Regions from separate parts of the Homo sapiens genome. Here regions 1, 2, 3, 4, 5 and 6 are each linked to region 7. The links are contacts of gene promoters, found by promoter capture Hi-C in blood cells and fetal thymus (Javierre and others, 2016). All regions are on one chromosome and are shown on one strand. The core of a region is centred on a gene start or on the middle of the fragment in contact, and the rest is flanking DNA. Distances in the headings are between cores, read along the strand shown.

Region 1 (3,252 bases), core at 357-2,856, 7.5 Mb before region 7:
GTTGCAGTGAGCTGAGATCGCACCACTGCACTCCAGCCTGGGCGACAGAGCAAGACTCCGTCTCAAAACAAACAAACAAACAAATAAACAAAAGATACTGCACTGATCCATTACATTGATGACATTACACTGATTCAACCTAGTGAACAAGAAGTAGCAAGTACTCTAGATTTATTGTTAAGACATTGCATGTCAGAGGATGGAAATAAACCCAACAAGAAATCAGGGGCCTTCTACCTCACTGAAATTCCCAGAGGTCGGGTGGTGTGGAGCATGGTGAGATATCCCTTCTAAGATGAAGTATAAATTGTTCCATCTGGCTCCTCCTACAGTCAAAAAGGAGGCACAATGCAAAGGGGGTCTCTTCGGATTTTGGAAGCAACGCATTCCTCACTTGGATGTGTTATTCTGCTGGCCATTTACCAAGTGATCCAAAAAACTGTTAGTTTACAGCGGGGCCCAGAACAAAGGAAAACTCCCCAACAGGACCAGGCTGCTGTGCAAGCTGATGTGCCACTTGGGCCACATGATCCAACAAATCTAATGGTGCCTCAAGTGTCAGTAGCAGAGAGGGATGCCGTTTGGAGCCTTTGGCAGGGCCCAGCAGAGGAATCACAGTGCAGGCCCTGAGGATTTTGGAGCAAAGCCCTATCTTCCTTTTTAGAAAACGACTCTTCAGAGGCAGCTTTTGGCCTCCTACTGGACCTTAGTAGAGACTGAACATTTAATCATGGGCCACGAAGTTACCATGCAACCTGCACTACCCATCAGGAAATGGGTGTTACCTGACCCACCAAGTCATTAAATTGAGTGTACACAGCAGTACTCCATCATAAAATTTAAGTGGTATAAATGTGATCAGGCCTAAGCAGGCCCTGAAGGCACACATGTGAAGAAGTGGCCCAAAAGCCCATCGTCCCCCCTCTTGCTACAATACCTTTCTCTCCCAGCCTGCACTCGTGGCCTCATGGGGAGTTCCCTATGATCAGTTGATAGAGGTAGAGAAGACTCAGGCCTGGTTTACAGATGGTTCTGCATGATAGACAGATACCACCTGGACAGCGCTACAGTCCTGTTCTGGGACATCCCCAAAGAACAGTGGTGAAGGGAAATCCTCCCAGTGATTGGAACTCTGAGCACCGCACCTGGTTGTTCATTTTTCCTAGAAGGAGAAATAGCCAGATGTGACATTATATACCAACTCATGCACTGTAGCCAATGGTCTGGCTGGATGGTCAGGAACTTGGAAGGAACATTATTTAAAAACTGGTGACAAGGAATTCTAGGGAAGAGATATGGACCTCGCTGAACAGGTAAAAAATATAAAGATATTTGTGCCCTATGTGAATACTTACCAAAGGGTAACCTTAGCAGAGGATGTTTCATAATCGGGTGTATAGGATGACCCATTCTGTGGATATCAGTCAGCCTCTTTACCAAGCTACCCTTATCATCACCCAATTGGCTCATGAACAAAGTGGTCATGATGGCAGTGATGAAAGTTATGCATGGGCTCAGCAACATGGACTTCTGCTCACCAAAGCCAAACTGGCTACAGCTACTGCTGAGTGCCCAGTCTGCTGGCAGCCAAGACCAACATTGGCTCCCCAATATGGCACCATTCCCTGGTGGCAGGCTGATACATTGGATTGCTTCCATCATGGAAGGGGTAGTATTTTTTTCTTACTGGAATACACACTTTAGATACAAATTTGCCTTCCTGACACAAAATGCTTCTGCCAAAACTACCATCCAGACCCTTAACGAATGAAGGTTTGGGTCACCCCACCAGTTAAAGAACCACAATCAGCTGAGGAGCTCGCTTGCTGAGGGAAAAAGGAATACATAATGGATAATGGAAGAAGGTAGGTATGAATACCAGCTATAACCACGTGAGCAGTTACAGAAACAAAGACTAATTGTCATGAATGTGTCTTCTTTATTTTATAATGAATGTGTATACAACACAGCTTTGTTTTCATCCCTTTCATATCTCTTTATCATGTACAGTATGATATACTGACTTTATATTAGAGTATTTAAATATTGTTAACTTTATATCAGTTTTTAAGTTATGGGATATCAGGGAGAAGCATTAACATCATCCAGACTTTGCATCCTCTTCTGGGGAAGTGTTAGTTATTTTTGGTTTTATGCAGGATAGTTGTATCATGTTAAGCAGAAGTATAACCTTGTTACTGCCTTTATTCAGATATGAAGTATGGTTTTAGGAGATGCTTATGGGTACCAAGTCGACAAGGGTGGACTTATGATGGTTAATTTTATGTGTCAACTTGACTGGGCCATGATGCCCAGATATTTGGTCAAACATTATTCTGGATGTTTCTGTGAAAGGTGTTTTTTTGGATGAGAGTAACACTTAAATCAGTGGACTCTGAATAAAGCAGATTACGCTCCACACAATGGATGAGCCTCATTCAATCAGCTAAAGTTCTTAATAGTACAAAGGCTAATGTCTGAGCAAGAGGGAATTGTGTTAGCAGACTGCCTTTAGACTTCGAATCACAACTGTTTTCTGGGTCTTCAGCCTGCTGGCCTGCCTTGCAGATTTTGGACGTACCAAGGCTCCACAATTGCATGAGCCAGTTCCTTAAAATAAATCTTTCTGTGTGCATGCATACACACAGACACAGACACAGACACACACACACACACACACCCTGTTTGTTCTGTTTCTCTAGAGAACCTTAATATACTATCCTAAGTATTTTACATGTATAGTGTCATTTAACTCCCCTCAGAACCCTGAGGGAGTTATTGATACCTTTCCCGGTAAACTGATGATGCAGGTGAGGCATCAAGAGCTTAAATAACTTGTAAAATGTCACAGAGTTCCTAAGAGAAGGAACTGGAATTTGAATTTCAAAGTCCTCAGTCTTTAACTATTAGATTACCATTTTCTAACTTGACACCTTCTATTCTATATCCCACCCGCTTCACAAAGCCATTCCTGATGAGTGCCAACTAATTTGGAATGAAAATCATTAGGATTATGGGTTCTATTATATGATATTTAACACACTGTTTATTCTCAAACATTTTTATTTACTAATTATTATCAGGAATTCTTCAATGGCATTCTTGTAATACTATTTAGTTCATTTTTATAATTACTTCCTAAGAGACAAATTGTCCTAGAAGTGGGGGGTTTCTGAGTAAGACACTGGCATGCCTGGCAACATGCAAGACCTTGTGCTTCAATACTTGGAAGAAGCACAAATTACTAAGATA
Region 2 (3,040 bases), core at 364-2,863, 7.1 Mb before region 7:
GCCGCAATAAACATACGTGTGCATGTGAATTGGACATAATTCTTGCCTGACTTTGACCCACTCTAACTCAGTGCAATTTAATTATCTATATTTCACATAGCTATGCCTGATCACACACACAGGTTCATTCCCTCAAGAATTCTGATCACCAAATTTGCTATTCCAGTCACATTACCGGTAAGAGATCAATGTATTTGATATATGGTCTTGCAAGACCAAGTTTTATTAATTTTTTTCCCTCTGAAGGAGTGGTGAAATTATACTCTATCTTCTCTGTGCTGGAAGTTCACAAGTTTTTGATTATTCAAAAATCATAAAAGGCCAAGAGGTCTTGAAGTAAGTAAAAATAAGTTCAGGTTTACCAACAAACTCTACAGCCTTAAGTTACTTTCTGCCGGCCAAGGTTTTCTCATCAGAAAATGAGGACAAGTGTTTGACCTAGAATTTGGGAAATCTGACTAGTGCTGTACTGTGCTAAAATTCACTCTTCTTATGTATAACGTTGTTTTATTATTTTATTAGTTGATGGCCTCTCAACCGTACCCAGTAATAAGAGAAACTTTACCCTCTAATTAGAAAATAATGGATATCTACTTTTGGCCTGCTGTGGCAGAGGAAAAGGCAGTTACCCTAGGACTGGTTTTGAAATAATCTTTCTAAAAACAAAGAAAAAACTACGTTAATTTTGGATTCTTCCCGATAACACATATATTTGATCCAATAGAAAAATGATGTCTAAATTACTTGTCAGATAAATTGATTATCTTTTCCAGATTATTACATTACTATTTAAGGAAGAAATAACTTGGCCATAGTATTTTCACTGTCACACACGATCACACACAGCTCATTTGCTCTTGGCACCCTTACAGACACTGAAATACAAGCACAAAGAAAGCACGTTTATATAACACAGATCACCAGTTACTCAATTACGGCCACACACAAAAAAGCAGATATACATACAGATACCCTTCATAAGCAAACCACAATAGAGATCTGTGTAAAATCGTCTTACTCTGTTAGACGATTCTACACAGTTATAAAATCCCATTACTACGCAGCTTAAAGTACAAATCACCTCACACCCCACAGCAGGAAGAATCACACACAGGCAGAAACACAACCATACACACCCGGCCACGGAAAGACTCTCAGTCCACCTGGCATCTCCCATTGTCACACACACCCCAAGGGCCTGGGAGGGCACACACAGGGTCCTCTGCAAATCCGAGGTTCCGGCGGGTCCCCGCACCGGCCCCAGCTCCTCCCCCGCACCTGCCTGGCCGGCGGGTCCCACCCTCTCTCCTGCCAGGGGTAGACCCTGGGACCACTCAGCTCGCTCTCGCAGGCCCTGAGCGTCTGACGCCTGCGCACTGAGCGCGGGCGGGCGGGCACTCCCAGAAACCTCCGGGGCGCTGCAGGCGGGACAAGCAGGTTCCACAGGCCGAGCCCACGAGCCCCTCGAGGGGTGAGCGGCCCGGGCCTCCTGGCGTTCTGGCCGGCTAGCCAAGCGCTGGACTACATTTCCCAGAGGCACGGCGTCCGGAGCGCTGGACTACATTTCCCAGAGGCACCGCTCCCGGAGCGTAGCTTCATTTCCGTTAGTTTGCGAGATTTGGAGGCCTCGCGTGGGGAGAGGGCCGCGTCTGTGGAGGAGCTTGGCTCCGCACCTGCTGGGCTGGCGAACCCGAAATTGGGCTTGGAACCCGGGAGCCAGATCTTGGACCCTGAACTGCACCTCTGTCAAGGTAGGAGTGTCCGGGATGCCGGAGCGGACACGCGCGGAGAAAGCGTCGCTGGGGTTACTCGTGTGGCCGTGTCTCCGGTTTTGTGTGCAGGCTACAGCCTGCCTGGTATTGGCGACTGCCTGTGCATACACGACTGGACGTGTGTGGCTGTGGTTTTGTGTATGAGCATTTGTATGAGTGTGAGTTGTGACTCTGAGGGTGTTTGTGACTGTTTGCTTACCTGGCTGGGATATACTTATGTGACTGTGATTTTATGTGTGCCGCGTGTATAATTGGGGTTTGCCTGTGACTATGAAGTGTGTGACAGTTGTGACAAGAGTGTTTGGATGTTCTTGTGTCACTTTGAGGTTGTGTGTAAACCTGATATCGTGGGATGGATTTGCCAGTAAATTTAAGGTGTGTGACAGTGTTGCTGTGACACGGTGTTTATTACCGCGTGTTTCCCTGATTTCGTACTGGGTTGGGTGACTGTCTGATTGTGTGTGACTGTGGGGTTGTGTGTGCTGTTTTCATGACTGTGTAAAGAGACTAAAATTGCAGCTTTGAAAGGGTGTTTTTGGCGGTATGTGTCTCTGACAAGGTGCTTGGATGTAATTATATGCCTTGTACTTAATGGGATTTTGTTTGAGACAAGGTGGTCTAACAATGTAGCATAATTGGGTGATTGTGCCTCTAGCTGTGTAACTGTGGAAATGTGATTATGTGTGACTTTATGTGGCCATTTGTATATTCTGTGACCTTATGGGGGTTTAGTCCAGTACAGAAGTAAATTTCTTTTTGGTATTTCTGGGGTTCATTTGGGGCTGAGGTCTGCCTATGGATTGTGAGTCCCATGTGGCTCTGTGCTCCTCCCATGTGGCTCTGAGGACTTAAGGACTTTTTGATTTGACCACAGTGGCTGCCCTTTCATCCATGGCCTGTATTGCTTCATTTCTGTATCCATCCTCGGTTCACCTTGGGAAATGTAGTTACTTACGAGTTCACGACTTCTTCCCTGCGTCCTCTTGCCTTATAGCCTTAAGGGGATTGGGTGCAGGGAAGTGGCAAGAAGTAAGGAAGTCAGACATTTGGACACCTGAGTGATGAATAGGAGTTATTTGCAAGTTACAGACCTGGTCTTAGGATGAGAATTTTAGGGCTGATAATACCTTCAAGACAGCCACTGGATGCTGTGCGCGGTGGCTCACATCTGTAATCCCAGCGCTTTGGGAGGCAGAGGCGGGTGGATTACCTGAGGTCATGGTTTCACCATGACCTCTACTAAAAATACAAAATTAGCTGGGCGTGGT
Region 3 (3,279 bases), core at 509-3,008, 7.4 Mb after region 7:
ACAGTTGAGCACATCGATGATGGTTTCCTATTGGGGCATTTCATTTGGACCCCTATGTTGGGGATTATTTGTCGTTTTATGGAAACCAGAAAATTGTGCTCGCTGGGAAACATTTCTTGGCTATCAGGGCAGTAAAGATTTCAGAAGCCTGTGCCATGTCAGTGACTGGGAGGCATTTTGGAACTTTCTGGCAGCCCTGTAGTACACTCATTGGGGATTTCTGAAAGTCAGTCCTGTCAGTGATTGCATTCAGGTGCGGTGGGGGCAACTTATTGTGGACAGGCAAGAAATGGTAACTGGAGGCCCTGATGCATGTCTGCAAATTTTCTGTGTCAAGATGGGGATTGGGACAGTGATTTTAAGTTTTAGCTCTAGTCAGAAGAGGCTGGTCTGTGTGTGGTGTATTATGGACGGGGACTGAAAAGTCCAGAAGCTCAGAATAGGTACACCAGACAGAGCCACCTCCCGGCCTGAGTTCTATGAAGGCAACAGAAAGAGGAAATGGTGTTTCTGGAAGCTGGCCACGTATGGGTACATGAGATAGTGGAGACAGTGTACAGTTTAGAACAAGGCAGATGTGGGGCTGATTCCCTGTTTTTCCATTTACAGACTGAGTAACCTTCAGGCAAATTATGTAACAGCACACAGCCTCATTATCCTCATCCTCAAAATGGGTATGATAATGCCCATGATATTTAGCTGACAATTAAATTGACAACTTTCTTTTTTTAATTCATATTTATCACGTGCCAGGCAGGCACTGAGGACTTGACAAGCTTCATCTTGGTTAAGTTTCCCAACATCTGTGATAAATACCTGCATTTTCATTTTGGAAACTACAACTAAAGTAATATTTTCATATTCTCACAGTGAAAATGTGGCAAAGCTGCAATGAATTCACCATTTAGTCCAGACTCAGTCTTTATTTTTAACCCTGACTAATAACTAGAGTTGGGCTTTCTGAACTTTGTCTACTCCAATGTCTGACACAGTGACTTCACCTCAGTGCCCTCAGGAAATATTTGTGGAGTGAATGTTGAATGAGTGACCATGTACTCATTGCTTTTCCAAGGCTTCTGCAGAACCCCCAGGTCAGGCCACATCATTGAGGCTGCAGGATCTCTCTTCATAGCCCAGTACGACTCTCCGCCGTGTCCCTGGTTGGAAAATCCAAACACCTATCCAGCTTCTGGCTCCTGGGAAAAGTGGAGTTGTCAGCAAGAGAGACCGAGAGTAGAAGCCCAGAGTGGAGATGCCTGCTGATGTGAATTTATCCCAGAAGCCTCAGGTCCTGGGTCCAGAGAAGCAGGATGGATCTTGCGAGGTAAACAGGGGCAGCCCTGGGGATAGTTCTCCAGAACGTGAGGGCAGACACAGGATGCAGCAGGTCTGGGCTCCCTGCTCCTGAGTCAGTCTTGAGCCTCCTGTCAAGCGAGGACCACAGAGGCTGATGTTTCCACATTCATAGGCTATCTGTGTTCTAGAGGAAACCATGAACTGGCTGATAAAAGAGGATAGTAGAGGGTTGGCCTTGGGTCAAGAAAGAAGAAACTGTAGTCCCTGGTCTGATCAGAAGCCCCAGTCATAGGATGGAAAAGCTGACTCTTTCCTGCTAAGCACTGGTTCTGCTCCTTCATCCACCACTGGGTCTTTGAAAAATTTCAAGTGGTCCCCCCCACCAAATTCCTTGCTTGGTCCATGGGGTTTGGCCCGTTTTTCCTCTGTTCTCATAAGGTGCGGCAAAATCTCCTTCCTTTGTAATTTAAATAGTCACAGGGAGGTAGAGTGAGAAGAGGCTTTTAAGGACCATGTGAAGAGGCTTTTAAACACTTTTTCCTGTTTAAAAAGGTGAACAAAAAATGCTGGAAAACAGTGTTTCCAGATTGCCCACAGATAGAAATAGTCAGGATTTGGTAACAAGAAATCAGAATTCTTGGTATAGTCAAGATTTCCTGAAATCCTAAATTATTCTGTGTATCTCTTGATGCTTTATTTACAAGTCTTTAAATAGTATGTGACTATAATAGTAAACAGTGTACCATTGTTCTGTGATGGGTTTATAACCAAATTTACAGAGATGTTCTGTTTTTTAAAAAAAGTATAATAAATATGTGTGTTATTATCCTGAACCAATATATTGTGAGATTATATATTTCAGTAACCTGTTAAAATCATCTCAACCTGCTAGAAACATTTGATAATAGAAAGTATTAAAAGAAGGGAACATTAACACAAAATAAATTGCACATATAAATCATTTTCAAAATTGTAAATACCCCAAATATTTAAAAGTCGTTCTTAAAAGAAAAATTGAAACATACAAGTTTAGGTGGGGCACAGTGGCTCATGCACTTTGGGAGGCCGAGGCGGGCGGATCACTTGAGCCCAGGAGTTGGAGACCAGCCTGGGCAACATGGCGAGACTCTACAAAAATACAAAAATTAGCCAGGTGTGGTGGCATGCACCTGTAGTCCCAGCTACTGAGTACGTTGACGTGGGAGGATCACCTGAGCTTGAGGCGGTCAAGGTTGCAGTGAGCTGCAATCATGACACTACACTCCAGCCTGGGCAATAGAGTGAGACCCTGTCTCAAAACAAAACAAGTTTAAAACATGAAATTGTCTAAGTCTTTGTGACAGCAGTGCAGATGCACAAACGTTTCTCTCATTTGCATTGATGTTGGTCAACTTGCGTGTTCAGAACATCTTCAAGTTTAGCGTTTTAGGACACATGTTCAATATAAGCTTTTTTCCTTTTTTAACAATGAAATTTTTTTTCTGCTTGACCTGATTTCCAGTTTATCATTTGAATCAATACTGCTGTCGCTAATTCAGATTTTCCATCAGTGTCTGAATTCATGTCAGAGTATATCCCAGTACCATGCACATTATCTTCTCTTTGTGGTGTGTATTTCCCTCTGCTCTGGACAGTACTATTTTTATTTTGTTATTTTTATCTTTTCTAATGTGATGGAAATAAAGATAGTATAGTGTTTTAATTTGCATTACTTTGTTTACAAACAGGCTTTTTTTTCATAATTTTATTGGTCAATTACTTGTCTTTAGTGAGTTACTTTTTCTTACCTTTTGATTTATATTTTGGTTTGGTTTAGCCTCCGGATTTTTAGAGAGGTTTTTTTTTTTTTTTTTTTTTTTTTGAGACGGAGTCTCGCTCTGAAGCGCAGGCTGGAGTGCAGTGGCGCAATCTCTGCTCACTGCAAGCTGCACCTCCCGGGTTAACGCCGTTCTCCTGCCTTAGCCTCCTGAATAGCTGGGAGTA
Region 4 (3,019 bases), core at 434-2,933, 7.1 Mb before region 7:
ATCAGAGAATCCATACTGGTGAGAAACCTTATGAATGTAAAGAATGTAGAATGGCCTTTACTCAGAGTTCACATCTTTCCCAACATCAAAGACTTCACACTGGTGAGAAACCCTATGTGTGTAATGAATGTGGAAAGGCCTTTGCGCGTGGCTTACTACTTATACAACATCAGAGAATTCATACTGGTGAGAAACCATATCAATGTAAGGAATGTGGGAAAGCCTTTATTCGTGGTTCACAGTTGACTCAACATCAGCGAATTCACACTGGAGAAAAACCCTATGAATGCAAGGAGTGTGGCAAGGCCTTTAGTCATGGCTCTCAGCTTACTCTACATCAGAGAATCCATACTGGTGAGAAGCCCTATGAATGCAGAGAATGTAGAAAGGCCTTTACTCAGAGTTCACATCTTTCTCGGCATCAGAGAATTCATACTGGTGAGAAACCATATCAATGTAAGGAATGTGGGAAGGCCTTTACTCGTGGTTCACAGCTAACTCAACATCAGAGAATTCATATCAGTGAGAAATCTTTTGAATATAAGGAATGTGGGATTGACTTTAGTCATGGCTCACAAGTTTACATGTGAATTGTCTGATTATTTGAGATCACTATGAAGAGGTTCTCTGGTTGTTAGCAGCAAAGAATTCTCACAAATGTGAATATGGGCGCACATTTGCCTCATAAAGCACAGCATCAGATAATTTATGTGAGAGAAAATGGTAGTGTCATTCATATAGAAAAACATCATTACTGGAAACCTATTAAACATTAGCAAATTGGAGAATAGTTTTAATATAGTAAATGTAGGAAGCCCTTTAGCCATATTGAAAACAAATATCTTTTTCAACGTTATCTTAGCTCTACTAGTTGATCTTTTTGTTATATGTATCATGATACTTAACCTCTACCTTGGTTTAATCATTTTAAGATAGACCTAAGTATATTACCTTTATTGTAAGATTCTTGGAAGTATTATGTAAGTTATTACATGTAAAAGCTCTTAGAATGGTGCCTTGAACGTAGCATACCACAAATATTAGCTACCATTTTCACTAGTGTTATTTTAGAGAATTTGCATGAGAGGAGAGTACTTATGAGTATAATGAATATTGAGAAATCTTTTATCAACACATCCAAGATGACTTGGTTGGGGGGCACTGTATGCCATAATGAATGTGAGAAAGCTGTCATTTAAATCTCATCCATTATTGCTATAAGAGGAAATTCATACTGTTAAAAAAAAAAAAACCCAGTGGATATAATCAGTGTATTATTAAAAAAAAAAAAACCCAGTGGATGTAATCAGTGTATTATTGAGCACAGCTGTTAGAGAAGTGGGACAAGGTGTGAAGTGATTTTTAACGAAGTCTAAGATCCAAAGTCTAATAAATCTAGGAATTTTTTAAAAACTTGAATGTATTGCTTTTGAAGTAAACAAAATAACTGATATTACAGACTATTTTGCAATGAAAAATGATGAGAGTTTGTGATACAGACTGCTTTTTTCCTACCCTATATCTATTTTCTCTTTTTTAGTAACAAATTTCTGGGCTGAAAATCTCAGCCTTCCTTGCAGGTCAACAAGATAGAAGTGATATTTATATGAGTAGGAGATTTACGAAATCCATTTTTCCTGTCTTTTTTTCCGTGCCTACAATGTGGACATCTAAGCTGGAGCTCCGTTACTCTCATGGGGACTTTGAGAATGGTATCTGGGTGTTATGGATCATGGAGCAGAAATACAGAAGGAGTCTGCAACCCTGATGACTTTGTGGAACAGCCATACTAGCTCTGGTCTGCTTGCCTCCTGTTTCTCTTTAAATAAAATTAAACATCTTATTTGTTGATGCTATTGTAGTTCTGTTATTGACAATAAAAATTCTTAAGGATATAAAATTTTGTACCTGGAAGTGGGATGCTATGGGTAAAAGAAATCTCAAATGGGGTATTGACTTAGGGCCATTGAGAATGAGGAACTGCCCAAATTAAGCTAGGAATTTGAAGATTCTTGTTTTAATAGGCAGGATGTTTTGTCACTGCCTCCCACTCTTACAAGCATGCTTTATATCAGTTGATGCTATAATGTTAGAGGAAATGCTAGAAGTGATTCAGAATATGTGTGTTGCATGTTTCTTGCTGCTTTCAGTAATGTCTTGTGAACGAGATAAATTTAGAGTAGAGCTAGGCAGCCCACTAGCAGCAATTGAAAGCAATATTGCTTTGGTAAGATGTTATCTATGATGGCAAGCCCTCAATCCTCCACCCTTAATCCACTTACAGTGATTTAATGTGACAACCTGAACAAGAAATCAGACCACTGCCAATGCATACAAAGGCAGTCTGCTAGTAAATATGGTTATGTTTTCCTCACAGGAGCCTATTGTTCTAAAAGTAGTCAGTTATTAGGTACTTAATATATTCCAGCCACTATCTTAGGTGTTTTGGATATTTGTCAGTGAACAATTCTAACAGGAGGAGATAATCATACACACAGAGTATGTTAGAATATAAGTGTTATGGGGAAAAAGTCATTGAAAAGACAATGGGAGGGATATGATCATTTAGATTGCTTTGTGAAATACAGTGATCAAGGTAGACCATCAAGAAGGATAGACTTGAGCCAAGACTTGAAGGAGTGTGGTGATTCCAGGCAGAGGAGAGAGGTCCTACAATGGGACTACACTGAAGTGTTTTAGGAAAAGTGGAGAAGTTATTGAAGAACACTGTGCAAAGGGATGGTTGCTAGAGCAGAACTGAGAGATAACAGAGAGCTATGTCTTGCCAAGCGTGCAAGCCATTGGAAAGATACTTTATTTTGAGGGAAACACAACTGTTGAAAAAAATCGATGAGGAGGTTGTAGTAACTCAGATGAAAGAGGATGTCATGGCTTCGGAAGAAGAGGTAACAATGGGTATAGTGGTTATTGGTTGTATTCTAGGTATATAGTAAATGTGACAGCAAGCAAGATTTGTTTAAGGGCTAGATGTAAAAGAGACAAGTCTAGGGTGACTTTA
Region 5 (3,476 bases), core at 331-2,830, 7.6 Mb before region 7:
TCAAAGAACTCTAGCCTGTAGAATGGATCTGCCCTTGGTCTATAGCACCCCAAACTTTCCTGGTTGATCTCCTTCCTTCTCAATCATCCCTCTGCCATCTCTACCTCCTCAATATAGTCATATATTACTTTCTCTAACTTTCCTAATTTCTGATCAACACTATTTTTTTGCCTAGTGATTCTATTAGAACATCCATCCATGTATTGTTGATCCCCTGTTAGATTGAAAACGTCTCTATAACACTTTAAAAATGTATTCCCATCACCTAGCAAAGCAACTTGTATGGATCTTTTATCTATTTATTTAGAGACAGCATCTTGCAGTGTCACCTAGACTGGAGTAAAGTGGTACAATCTTGGCTCACTGTAGCCTCAAACTCCTGGGCTCAAGTGATCTCCCACCTCAGTCTGCTGAACATCTGGGACTACAGGCATGTACCACCATGCCTGGTGAATATTTTAATTTTTAATTTTTTGTAAAGACAGGGCTTTTGCTATGTTGCCCAGACTGGTCACAAACTCCTAAGCTCAAGTAATCCTCCCACCTGAGCCTCCCAAAGTGCTGAGATTACAGGTGTGAGCCACTGAGCCCAGCCTGAATCTTTTAAAAAACTAATAAGCAGGCTGGGCACAGTGGTGTATGCCTGTAATCCTAGCACTTTCAGAGGCTGAGGTGGGAGGATTGCTTAAGGAGGTCGAGACCAGCCTGGGCAATACAGTGAGACCTCATCTCTGCAAAAAATTAAAAAATTAGCCATGCATGGTGGCATGGGCCTGTAGTTCCAGCTACTCAGGAAACTTAGGTGAGAGGATTGCTTGAGCCAGGGAGGCAGAGGTTGCAGTGAGCTGAGTTTGCACCACTGTACTCCATCCAGCCTGAGTGACAGAGTGAAACCCTGTCTCAAAACAAACAAACAAAAATTAATAAACACTATAGATTGTGTCCTTTGATGTACAGAAGTTTTTAGGTTTGATGTAGTCCCATTTGTCTGTTTTTGCTTTTGTTGCCAGTGCTTTTGGTATTATACACAATAAATCATTGCCAAATCCAATGTCATGAAGCTTTTCTCCAATATTTTCTACTTAGAGTTTTATTGCTTTAGCTCTCACATTTAGGTCTTTGATCCATTCTGAGTTAATTTTTCTATATGGTGTAAGACAAGGGTACAACTGTATTCCTTTGCCTGTGGATAATCCAATTTTCTCCATGGAAGTGTTGGCACCCTTGTCTAAAATAATTTGACTATTTATGCAAGGGTTTATTTCTGGGCTTTCTATTCTATTCCTTTAGAATATCTTTTTTTTTTTTTTTTTTTGAGACGGAGTCTCGTTCTGTCGCCCAGGCGGGAGTGCTGTGGCGCGATCTCCGCTCACTGCAAGCTCCGCCTTCCGGGTTCACACCATTCTCCTGCCTCAGCCTCCCGAGTAGCTGGGACTACAGGCGCCCACCACTGCGCCCGGCTAATTTTTTGTATTTTTAGTAGAGACGGGGTTTCACCGTGGTCTCGATCTCCTGACCTCGTGATCTGCCCGCCTCGGCCTCCCAAAGTGCTGGGATTACAGGCGTGAGCCACCGCGCCCGGCCTAGAATATCTTTATGCCAGTACCACACTGTTTGATTACTATATCTTTGTAATATGTTTTGAAATCAGGTTTTCCCAAAGTTTGGTTTAAAATAAACTTGCCAGCCCAACATTCTGACCAGCTGGCCTGCTCTCTGCAAGAGCTTCCTGTGCTTGCTCACTCACCTGGGCACCATCTTCCTGTCTCTTCCCTCACAACCATCCAGGGCTCCTTCCCTTGCTCCAATGAGGAGATTACGGCTGGCTTAGAAACAGAAAGTCCTAGTTATAAGAAAAGAAATTGAGATGAGATGGAAATGAATGTATCCAAATACAGTGATTTAGAACTGATTAAAATAAAAATAAATCACAGATAAAAATGGTACTTGATAAGGGATACAGAGGAAATAAAGGAGAAGAGATGAAACACTCATATTCAGATGAACACAGGATCATAACAAACAAAGCAAACAAACAGGCGATAAAATAGTACTTAAATTTATGTAAGGTTTCTCTTTTTTGCTGTGAGGAAAAAAAAGAAGCTTCTTGAGATATTTATTCTTTTTTTTTTTTTTGAGATGGAGTTTTGCTCTTGTTGTCCAGGCTGGAGTGCAATGGCACAATCTTGGCTGACTGCAACCTCCACTTCACGGGTTCAAGTGACTCTCCTGCCTCAGCCTCCTAAGTAGCTGGGATTATAGGCGCACACCACTCTGCCTGGCTAATTTTTGTATTTTAGTAGAAACGGGGTTTGGCCCATATTGGCCAGGCTGGTCTCAAACTCCTGGCCTCAGGTGATCCACTTGCCTCAGCGTCCCAAAGTGCTGGGATTACAGGCATGAGCCACAGCACCCAGCCTCCTTTTTTTTTTTAATGTTAACTGTACAAAGTTCTTTAAAAATAACTTCCAAAGGCAAATCACTTAAAAGAGAGTACAGGTCAGGCGCGGTGGCTCACACCTGTAATCCCAGCATTTTGGGAGGCCAAGACGGGTGGATCACTTGAGATCAGGAATTCGAGACCAGCCTGGCCAACATGGTGAAACCCTGTCTCTACTAAAAATACAAAAATTAGCTGGGCGTGGTGGCGGGCACCTGTAATCCCAGCTACTCAGGAGGCTGAGGCAGGAGAATTGCTTGAACCTGGGAGGCAGAGGTTGCAGTGAGCCAAGATATGCCATTGCACTCTAGCCTGGGCAACAAAAGTGAAACTCTGTCTCAAAAAAAAATTAAAAAGGCCAGGTGCGGTGGCTCATGCCTGTAATCCCAGCACTTTGGGAGGCCGAAGCAGGTGGATCACCTGAGGTCGGGAGTTTGAGACCAGCCTGACCAACATGGAAAAAACACATCTCTACTAAAAATACAAAACTAGCCAGGCGTGTTGGCACATGCCTGTAATCACAGCTACTCGGGAGGCTGAGGCAGGAGAATTGCTTGAAGCTGGGAGGCAGAGGTTGTGGTGAGCCGAGATCACGCCATTGCACTCTAGCCTGGGCAATAAGAACGAAACTCCGTCTCAAAAATAAATAAATAAATAAAATAAAAAGTGAAAGATTACATTTATTATAGGAAATGGAGTGGTGCTCATTTGAGAATAGTAAATGAACCTTTATTACTCCAGCCTATCACTCTATTACCCAGGAAAGAAAAAAGCTTCACTCCTGGAACCCATGTGTCTAGTTTTAATCTTATGCTAGTACACTAGCAGATTTAGCACAGTGGAAGTGAAACAAAAGACAGAGTCTGCTTTCTTTGACAGTGTTATGCTTTAACATTGCAGATTTCCAATTCTGCCCCTTAAACATCAAGGAGGAGTTATTATAAGAAAGGACCAAAAGAACGTGTAAGGATGGGGAAAATGAAAATGTACCTCCATTTAGCTGTGCTGGTTTCTACAATACATAAAGAGAAAATTC
Region 6 (3,081 bases), core at 499-2,998, 7.5 Mb before region 7:
GCAACTTAGTGAAACCCTGTCTCTACAAAAATACAAAAATTAGCCAGGCGTAGTGGCACGCCCCTGTGGCTAGCTACTCAGGAGACTGAGGTGGGAGGATCACCTGAGCCCAGGGAGGTCGAGGCTGCAGTGAGCCGTGATCACACCACTGCACTCCAGCCTGGGCAACAGAGTGAGACTTTGTTTCAAAACAAAACAAAAGAAACTATAAAACTCTTAGGAAAAAACACATAGGCATACATCTTAATGATCTTAAATTTGGCATGCATTCTTTTGGAGTTTCTTTCATGGTGATTGAAATGTTCTAAAATTAGGTTGTGGATGATTGTTCATTATGATGGTTTGTGAATATACCAACAACCATTGAATCGTATACTTTAGATGGATGAATTTTATGGTGTGTAAATTATATCTCAATGCTGTCATTTAAAAAATCTTGGCTAGGCCACCTCTGCAATGTGTAACACTGAGCAAGCCATGAGTGTCTCCTGTGTTAGTCATGTTAGTCAATTTCAGGTATAATAGGACCTACCTCACTCAGGGTTTTTGTGAGGGTCATTGGATCTACATCACAGGGAATTATTTTGGAAAGTGTAAAGAAATAATTGAATTCCAAATATCCAAGAGAAGGAAACTGGTTGGATTAACCAAGTACAGTGCCACTGAGGAGTATTATGCAGCCATGAAAAGGGATCAGTTGCATGGATTTATGGAGAAGGGCCTCCAGGATACTTTGGATTTTTTTGTTTTCTTGTTTTGTTTGTTTGTTTCTGAGACAAGGTCTCCCTCCGTTGCCCAGGCTGGAGTGCAGTGGCTTGATCATGGCTCACTGCAGCCTCGATCTCCCTGGGCTCAGGTGATCCTCCCACCTCAGCCTCCCAAGTAGCTGGGACTACAGGCATGTACAACCATACCTGGCTAATTTTATTTTATTTTATTTTTGTACAGTTGGGGGTCTTGCTATGTTTCCTAGGCTGTTCTTGAACTCCTAGGCTCAAGTGATCTGCCCACCTTGGCCTCCTCAGGTGCTGGGATTATAGGTGTGAGCTACCTTGCCTGGCCTCCAGGATACTTTGTTAGTGACAAAAGCAACCGAATATTATATTCTATCTTTTATCTAAGCTTTCAGCTTATCCTTTCATTATTTTAATATAAGCAAATGTATATATTTGGATTTTTTTAAACTCATGTCACCACCATCACCCAAATTTAAAAAGAAAACAAAAACAGAACACTTCTAGCCCCCATCCAATCACCCTGGCACAGAAGTAACCTCTGTTGTAATTTCATCTCATATAAAAGGAGTCATGCAGAATGTAGCCTTTTGAGTCTGGCTTCATTCAGTAAGGATGTTGCAATTAGTAAACTGTAGCTGGGACTACAAGTACATGCCATCATGCTGGCTAATTTGTGTATTTTTATTTTGCAGAGACAGAGTCTCACTATGTTGCCCAGGCTGGTCTCGAACTCCTGAGCTCATGCAATCCTCCTGCCTTGTCTTCCCAAAGTGCTGGGATTACAGGCATGAGCTCAGTTCAGTTGCATGTTGCAATTCACTCATATTATTGCATGTATCATTGCTTCATTCTTCTTAGTATAAAGTAGTATTCCATTGTCTGGATGGATCACAGTTGGTTTGTCTGTGTATCCATTGATGCACACTTGGGTTGTTTCCAGTTCTGAGGTGGTTATGAATAAAACTGCTACGAACATTCACATTCGGGTCTTTTTGTAGATACATGTCTTTGTTTGTCATGGATAGATACTCAGGAGTGGTATTGATGGGTCGTTTAAACAATTACTTTAAAATGGTATCTTTACATGGAATAGTTTTGCCTCTTGATTGTGGTGGTGGTGACACAAATCTAAATGTGTGATAAAATGGTAAAAACACGCACATAATGAATGCATGGAAAACTAGTGATATCTGAAAGAAGTTGGTGCATTGTGTAATGACAATTTTCTGATTTTTTGTTTTTATTTTTTAGAGACAGAGTCTTGCTCTGTTGTCCAGGTCGAAGTACAGTGGCACAGTCATAGTTCATTGTAGCCTCAAACTCCTGGGCTTAAGTGACCCTCCTGCCTCAGCCTCCTGAGTAGCTGGGACTACAGGTACACGCCCCCATGCTGGCTAATTTGTGTATTTTTATTTTGTAGAGACAGAGTCTCACTATGTTTCCCAGGCTGGTCTCAAACTCCTAAGCTCATGCGATCTTACTGCCTTGTGCTCCCAAAGTGATGGGATTACAGGCATGAGCTACCTACTGTGCTCAACCAGTTTTCTGATTTTGACCATATGCTATGGTTATGGAAGATGTGACCATTGTGGAGACGCTAGGTGAAAGGTGAATGAGACCTCTCTGCACTATTTTTGCAAGCTTCTGTGGATCTATAATCATTTCAAAATAAAAATAAATAAATTTTAAAAAGAGCCTGCTGCAAGACTGAGAAGTGCCTATGGTGTCTGATTCCCTGTCGTTGGGCATGGATTCTGTTTCCTACTCTGGGCCCTTTTGGACAAAGCCATGCAGAATATCTTATCCCATACCTGCCCCTGTGAGCCACTTACTCTTTCTCAAAGTTTTCAGCAACCCTGGGAGTAGGCGGTATGTGGTGGTTCACACCTATAATCCCAGCACTTTGGGAAGCCAAGGCAGGAAGATCGCTTGAGCCCAGGAATTGGAGACTAGCCTAAGCAACATAGTAAGACCCCATTTCTACCAAAAAAAAAAAAGTTAGCCGGTCTTGATGGCATGCGCCTGTAGTCCCAGCTACCCAGGAGGCTGAGATAGGAGGATCACTTGAGCCCAGTGAGGCCGACGCTGCAATGAGCGGTGATAGGCCACTGCACTCCATCCTGGGCAACAGAGTGAGACCCTGTCTCAAAAACAAAAAAATTAAAATTAAAAAATAATTAGCTGGATGTGGGTGGTACATGCCTATGGTCCCTGCTATGCAAGAGGGAGAATTGCTTGAGCTGAGGAAGTCGAGGCTGCAGTGAGCCATGATCATGCCACTGTATTCTAGCCTAGGCAAAGAGTGAGACCCTGTCTCAAAAATAAAATAAAAATAAGACTTGAA
Region 7 (3,403 bases), core at 687-3,186:
GGGAAAAGAGTAGCAGGTTATGACAGAAGGAACACCAAATACAAAGAATTAGAGGCTTTTTGTAGGAGTACAAGTAATCCACTATGGCTGGACATGTAGAGTGGAAAGTGGATTCCAAGAGAGAAACAGCATCTGGAAAATTCCTGTTTGTGCGACTTGTTAAAGCATTTGAACCTTCTCTTAAGGGCACTGGATAGACATGCAGGTGAAAATAATCAAATTTCCATCTTAGGAGATATACTTAACCTCTCTCTGCCTCTGGATCCCAAAGAGTAAACTAGAGGACATTATTTGTTTTAAAAAAGTTGTGAAAATGGGCTAAGTGTGGTGGCTCATGCCTGTAATCCTAGCACTTTGGGAGGCCGGGGCGGGTGGATCACCTGAGGTCAGGAATTCAAGACTAGCCTGGCCAAGATGGCAAAACCCCGTCTCTACTAAAAATACAAAAATTAGCTGGGCGTGGTGGGGAGGGGGGTGCCTATAACCCCAGCGACTTGGGAGGCTGAGGCAGGAGACTTGCTTGAACCTTGTGTGAGGGCGGAGGTTGCAATGAGCCGAGGTCATGCCACTTCACTCCAGCCTGGGCAAAAGAGCCAAACTCTGTCTAACAACAACAACAACAACAACAACAACAAAACAGAACAAAAAAAAAAAGAAAAAAGTTGTGAAAATGTAGTGAGGGTCCCATAGTCTGAATAGTTTGAACTAGTTCCTGGCACATACTTGGTTCTTTATAAGAGATAGTTGTATATAACAGAATAAAGAATATATATTTAGTAAATGAGAACTGCAAACATGTACTGTAGTAGATATGTGGATATTTTTAGGTATTGCTCTCTTCTTTCAACCCTCAATTCTTGGAAACATCAATTCCATTATACATTTAAGCAAATAAAGATCAAGGTTTAAACACTGAAGTAATAAATTTGTTCATCTTTCAAATTCAGAAACTCCTTGAGGAATGATTACAGAGGCCCTAGTTGCTTTGTGGAGTTGATCTACCATATGCCAAAGCTTGTGTTTTCTATGTCTAGCTATCCTCAGTAAGCAAGTTGTTCTGAATTATATGACTGTGCTATTAAGAAAAGTGGAAATCCATAATATATTCTGCCTTCGTTGCATTTTTTGATTGCTCTTTCATTCTTTTAGTATCTAAAGAGTAGTTTTTCTATTAGTCGATCCTGTTAAATGTAAAAACTTAAAGGGTTTCCTCTGCCCTTTTTTTTTTTTTTTTTGGAAGTGGTGGGTATAATTCTATTAGTACAGGATCACGTGATCTGTTTCTTATAATAGTTTTTTTTTTCTTTTTTTTTTTTTTGAGACAGAGTCTCACTCTGTCGCCCAGGCTGGAGTGCAGTGGCACGATCTTGGCTCACTGCACCCTCCAGGGTTCAAGCGATTCTTATGCCTCAGCCTCCCAAGTAGCTGGGACTACAGGCGCGCGCCACCACGCCCGGCTAATTTTTATATTTTTAGTAGAGACGGGGCTTCATCATATTGGCCAAGCTGGTCTGGAACTCCTGACCTCGTGATCCGCCCGCCTCGGCCTCCCAAAGTGCTGGGAGTCTTTTTTTATTTTAGGGCTCCAATTCTTCACATATTTGCTGTTACTTTTTGTTAATAAGAAAAACCTAAATTCCACTGACATCAGAGAACTGCTTCAGCCTGGCTAAACAGCAATAAGCCGTGAAGAGGATTCTGGATGTTGTAGTCCGGGAGCTCCGAGAATTTTGTCACACTCTCCGTAACCCTCTCTCACTCGCTCGCTCCGTTTTTTTTTTTGTTTTTTTTTTTTTCAAGCGCGAAGAGGGCGGCACCTGGATGGTTTTTCCTTCTGGAAGTTCTGGGAAACGTATTCCAGAACTCTGTCCGGAAACAATTGGGCCGCAGGAGCGCGGGCCTTCTGGGAAGGGTAGTTCAGGAGCTCTGGGCAGGCAGAGCCACTTCCGCCCCGGAAAGCGAGGCCGCCACCATCTTTTGGGTCCGGGAGGTGAGTCAGCCCTGCACCCCCACGACCCCTCTTGAACCTTTTCAGCCTGTGCTTGGGAATAGGCGCTCCCCAGCCATCAGTCTTGGGATGGAGAGGTCGCGGCCGCGGCGGAGGCCGAGAGGCCGAGGGCGGGAAGTTTGCTCTCCTCCCGCACTTGGCAAGCAGCGCCGCTAGTTCTGTGGGTATAATAAACAGCGAGTTACCTATGATCCGCGCTCCTGTTTCCTCATCTTTAAAATAGCAATAAAGATAGTCGTTACTGTGTAGGGTTGTAATTAGAATTAAACAAGATAATACGGGTCAAACCTTAGAACAGTGGTGGCACCTGATACTGGGTTGGCTCCTGCTATTGATACAGTGATTCCCTCACAAGCGCCCTTTTTACTGGAAGCTCCAGTGAAGAGAGAAGAAAAGTCAGGGCTTTATGCCATGGCCTTTCTGTCGTATCCTTCAGGAGACCGAGCTCTTCCCGAACTTTTACAGATCTTTTTTTTTTTTAAGAAGGATTGAGTCATCGGGCTCCAATGCGTGGGGATGTTTACCGCCGTTTATCCGGGATAGAGACTCCATCGTGCTGACAGCATCCTTTTATTCACCGCCTCCGAATTTGCAAAGAGGAGGAAGGAGGGACTTCTTGGCTTCTCCCAGCATAGCCCCAGGTACCTGCTCTTGAACGCACTTTGTTGTTCCATTTTCTGTCCTTTCAGTTAATCAAGTTTCCGTCACTCAGTAAGTTACTACTGAAAAATGATGAAATATTTGTTGAATAAATGTGAGAGTGGGTAGGAAAACTACTTGGAAATGAGTATTACCAATAACATCTTACCACTTTGATTTTAAGGCATTCGTCTGTGGACCATAGCTATTGATGAAGTAGGTCTTGTTATTTTGTTATGAGGAAATTAGGCAGAGTTTATGTTATTAAATACTTTCCCGAAGTTATTCAACTGATAGTAAGAGGTGGATTTGGGATTGAACCCAAGCATTCCTTTTCAGACTGTGTGATCTTTTTTGTTTGTTTTTGTTTCTTTGGTTTTTGTTGTTGTTTATTTTCTATTCCTTTTTCTGAGTCTGTGGTCTTAATCTCAATGATACAGTCGTCTTCAGTTATCTTAAATAGTAATCCATATGGCTACCGGTGAGTCGTTGGAAATCAGCCTTGGGAATGTAGGTATGGATTTTACTGTGGAAGACCTCAAAAACTGCACTGATGAATTTTGAATTTTTTAGAAAAATCCTGCAACATCTCACTTACTTAATTTCATTCCATGTCAAAATATGTCATATTCTAGTTATAGAAGTAATGAATGCTCATTATAGAGATGCACTATCCAATCCAGTAGCTATAAGCCATGTGTGCCCTAGGAGCACTTGAAATGTGTCTAGTCCAAATTGAGATGTGCTGTAAGTGTT

What was found. Contacts are between HindIII fragments. The CHiCAGO score rates a contact against its expected background, and 5 or more counts as called.
Region 1: a fragment that was not itself captured here is called in contact with the fragment with the promoter of ZNF227 in region 7 in 2 of 17 cell types (non-activated CD4 T cells and activated CD4 T cells); the score reaches 13.0 in non-activated CD4 T cells.
Region 2: a contact is called between the fragment with the promoter of ZNF420 here and the fragment with the promoter of ZNF227 in region 7, in 5 of 17 cell types (activated CD4 T cells, naive CD8 T cells, non-activated CD4 T cells and 2 more). The highest score is 10.5, in activated CD4 T cells.
Region 3: a fragment that was not itself captured here is called in contact with the fragment with the promoter of ZNF227 in region 7 in 1 of 17 cell types (total CD4 T cells); the score reaches 5.9 in total CD4 T cells.
Region 4: a contact is called between a fragment that was not itself captured here and the fragment with the promoter of ZNF227 in region 7, in 1 of 17 cell types (total CD4 T cells). The highest score is 7.3, in total CD4 T cells.
Region 5: a fragment that was not itself captured here is called in contact with the fragment with the promoter of ZNF227 in region 7 in 2 of 17 cell types (naive B cells and naive CD8 T cells); the score reaches 7.1 in naive B cells.
Region 6: a fragment that was not itself captured here is called in contact with the fragment with the promoter of ZNF227 in region 7 in 2 of 17 cell types (total CD4 T cells and non-activated CD4 T cells); the score reaches 6.9 in total CD4 T cells.

The regions. Positions count from the first base shown.
Region 1 is chr19:36,671,038-36,674,289 of GRCh38, forward strand. It overlaps a transcript of ZNF567 not described here. Among named protein-coding and RNA genes, the nearest start is that of ZNF461, 5.8 kb to the left of the region's middle. The HindIII fragment of the contact is 4,228 bases long and covers 1-3,252 here.
Region 2 is chr19:37,076,820-37,079,859 of GRCh38, forward strand. It overlaps ZNF420 (zinc finger protein 420), which reads left to right and starts at 1,614. Exons shown (of 5, transcript NM_144689.5): 1 at 1,614-1,751. LOC105372390 (a long non-coding RNA gene) reads right to left here and starts at 1,378. Exons shown (of 2, transcript XR_001754095.2): 1 at 1,279-1,378. RefSeq lists a silencer at 1,070-1,359 and an enhancer at 1,450-1,689. The HindIII fragment of the contact is 14,557 bases long and covers 1-3,040 here.
Region 3 is chr19:51,572,078-51,575,356 of GRCh38, forward strand. It overlaps ZNF175 (zinc finger protein 175), which reads left to right. Exons shown (of 5, transcript NM_007147.4): 2 at 1,073-1,324. The coding sequence starts at 1,253. Among named protein-coding and RNA genes, the nearest start is that of ZNF175, 2.4 kb to the left of the region's middle. The HindIII fragment of the contact is 1,968 bases long and covers 775-2,742 here.
Region 4 is chr19:37,128,469-37,131,487 of GRCh38, forward strand. ZNF420 (zinc finger protein 420) reads left to right here. Exons shown (of 5, transcript NM_144689.5): 5 at 1-1,900. The coding sequence ends at 590. Among named protein-coding and RNA genes, the nearest start is that of ZNF585A, 43 kb to the right of the region's middle. The HindIII fragment of the contact is 4,439 bases long and covers 1-3,019 here.
Region 5 is chr19:36,654,701-36,658,176 of GRCh38, forward strand. It overlaps ZNF461 (zinc finger protein 461), which reads right to left. Exons shown (of 6, transcript NM_153257.5): 4 at 1,748-1,843. Among named protein-coding and RNA genes, the nearest start is that of ZNF461, 10 kb to the right of the region's middle. The HindIII fragment of the contact is 1,042 bases long and covers 1,060-2,101 here.
Region 6 is chr19:36,690,404-36,693,484 of GRCh38, forward strand. The region is part of intron 2 of ZNF567 (zinc finger protein 567); the gene reads left to right. Among named protein-coding and RNA genes, the nearest start is that of ZNF567, 4.3 kb to the left of the region's middle. The HindIII fragment of the contact is 1,256 bases long and covers 1,121-2,376 here.
Region 7 is chr19:44,210,596-44,213,998 of GRCh38, forward strand. ZNF227 (zinc finger protein 227) reads left to right here and starts at 1,937. Exons shown (of 6, transcript NM_182490.3): 1 at 1,937-1,990; 2 at 2,495-2,649. The HindIII fragment of the contact is 5,683 bases long and covers 1,013-3,403 here.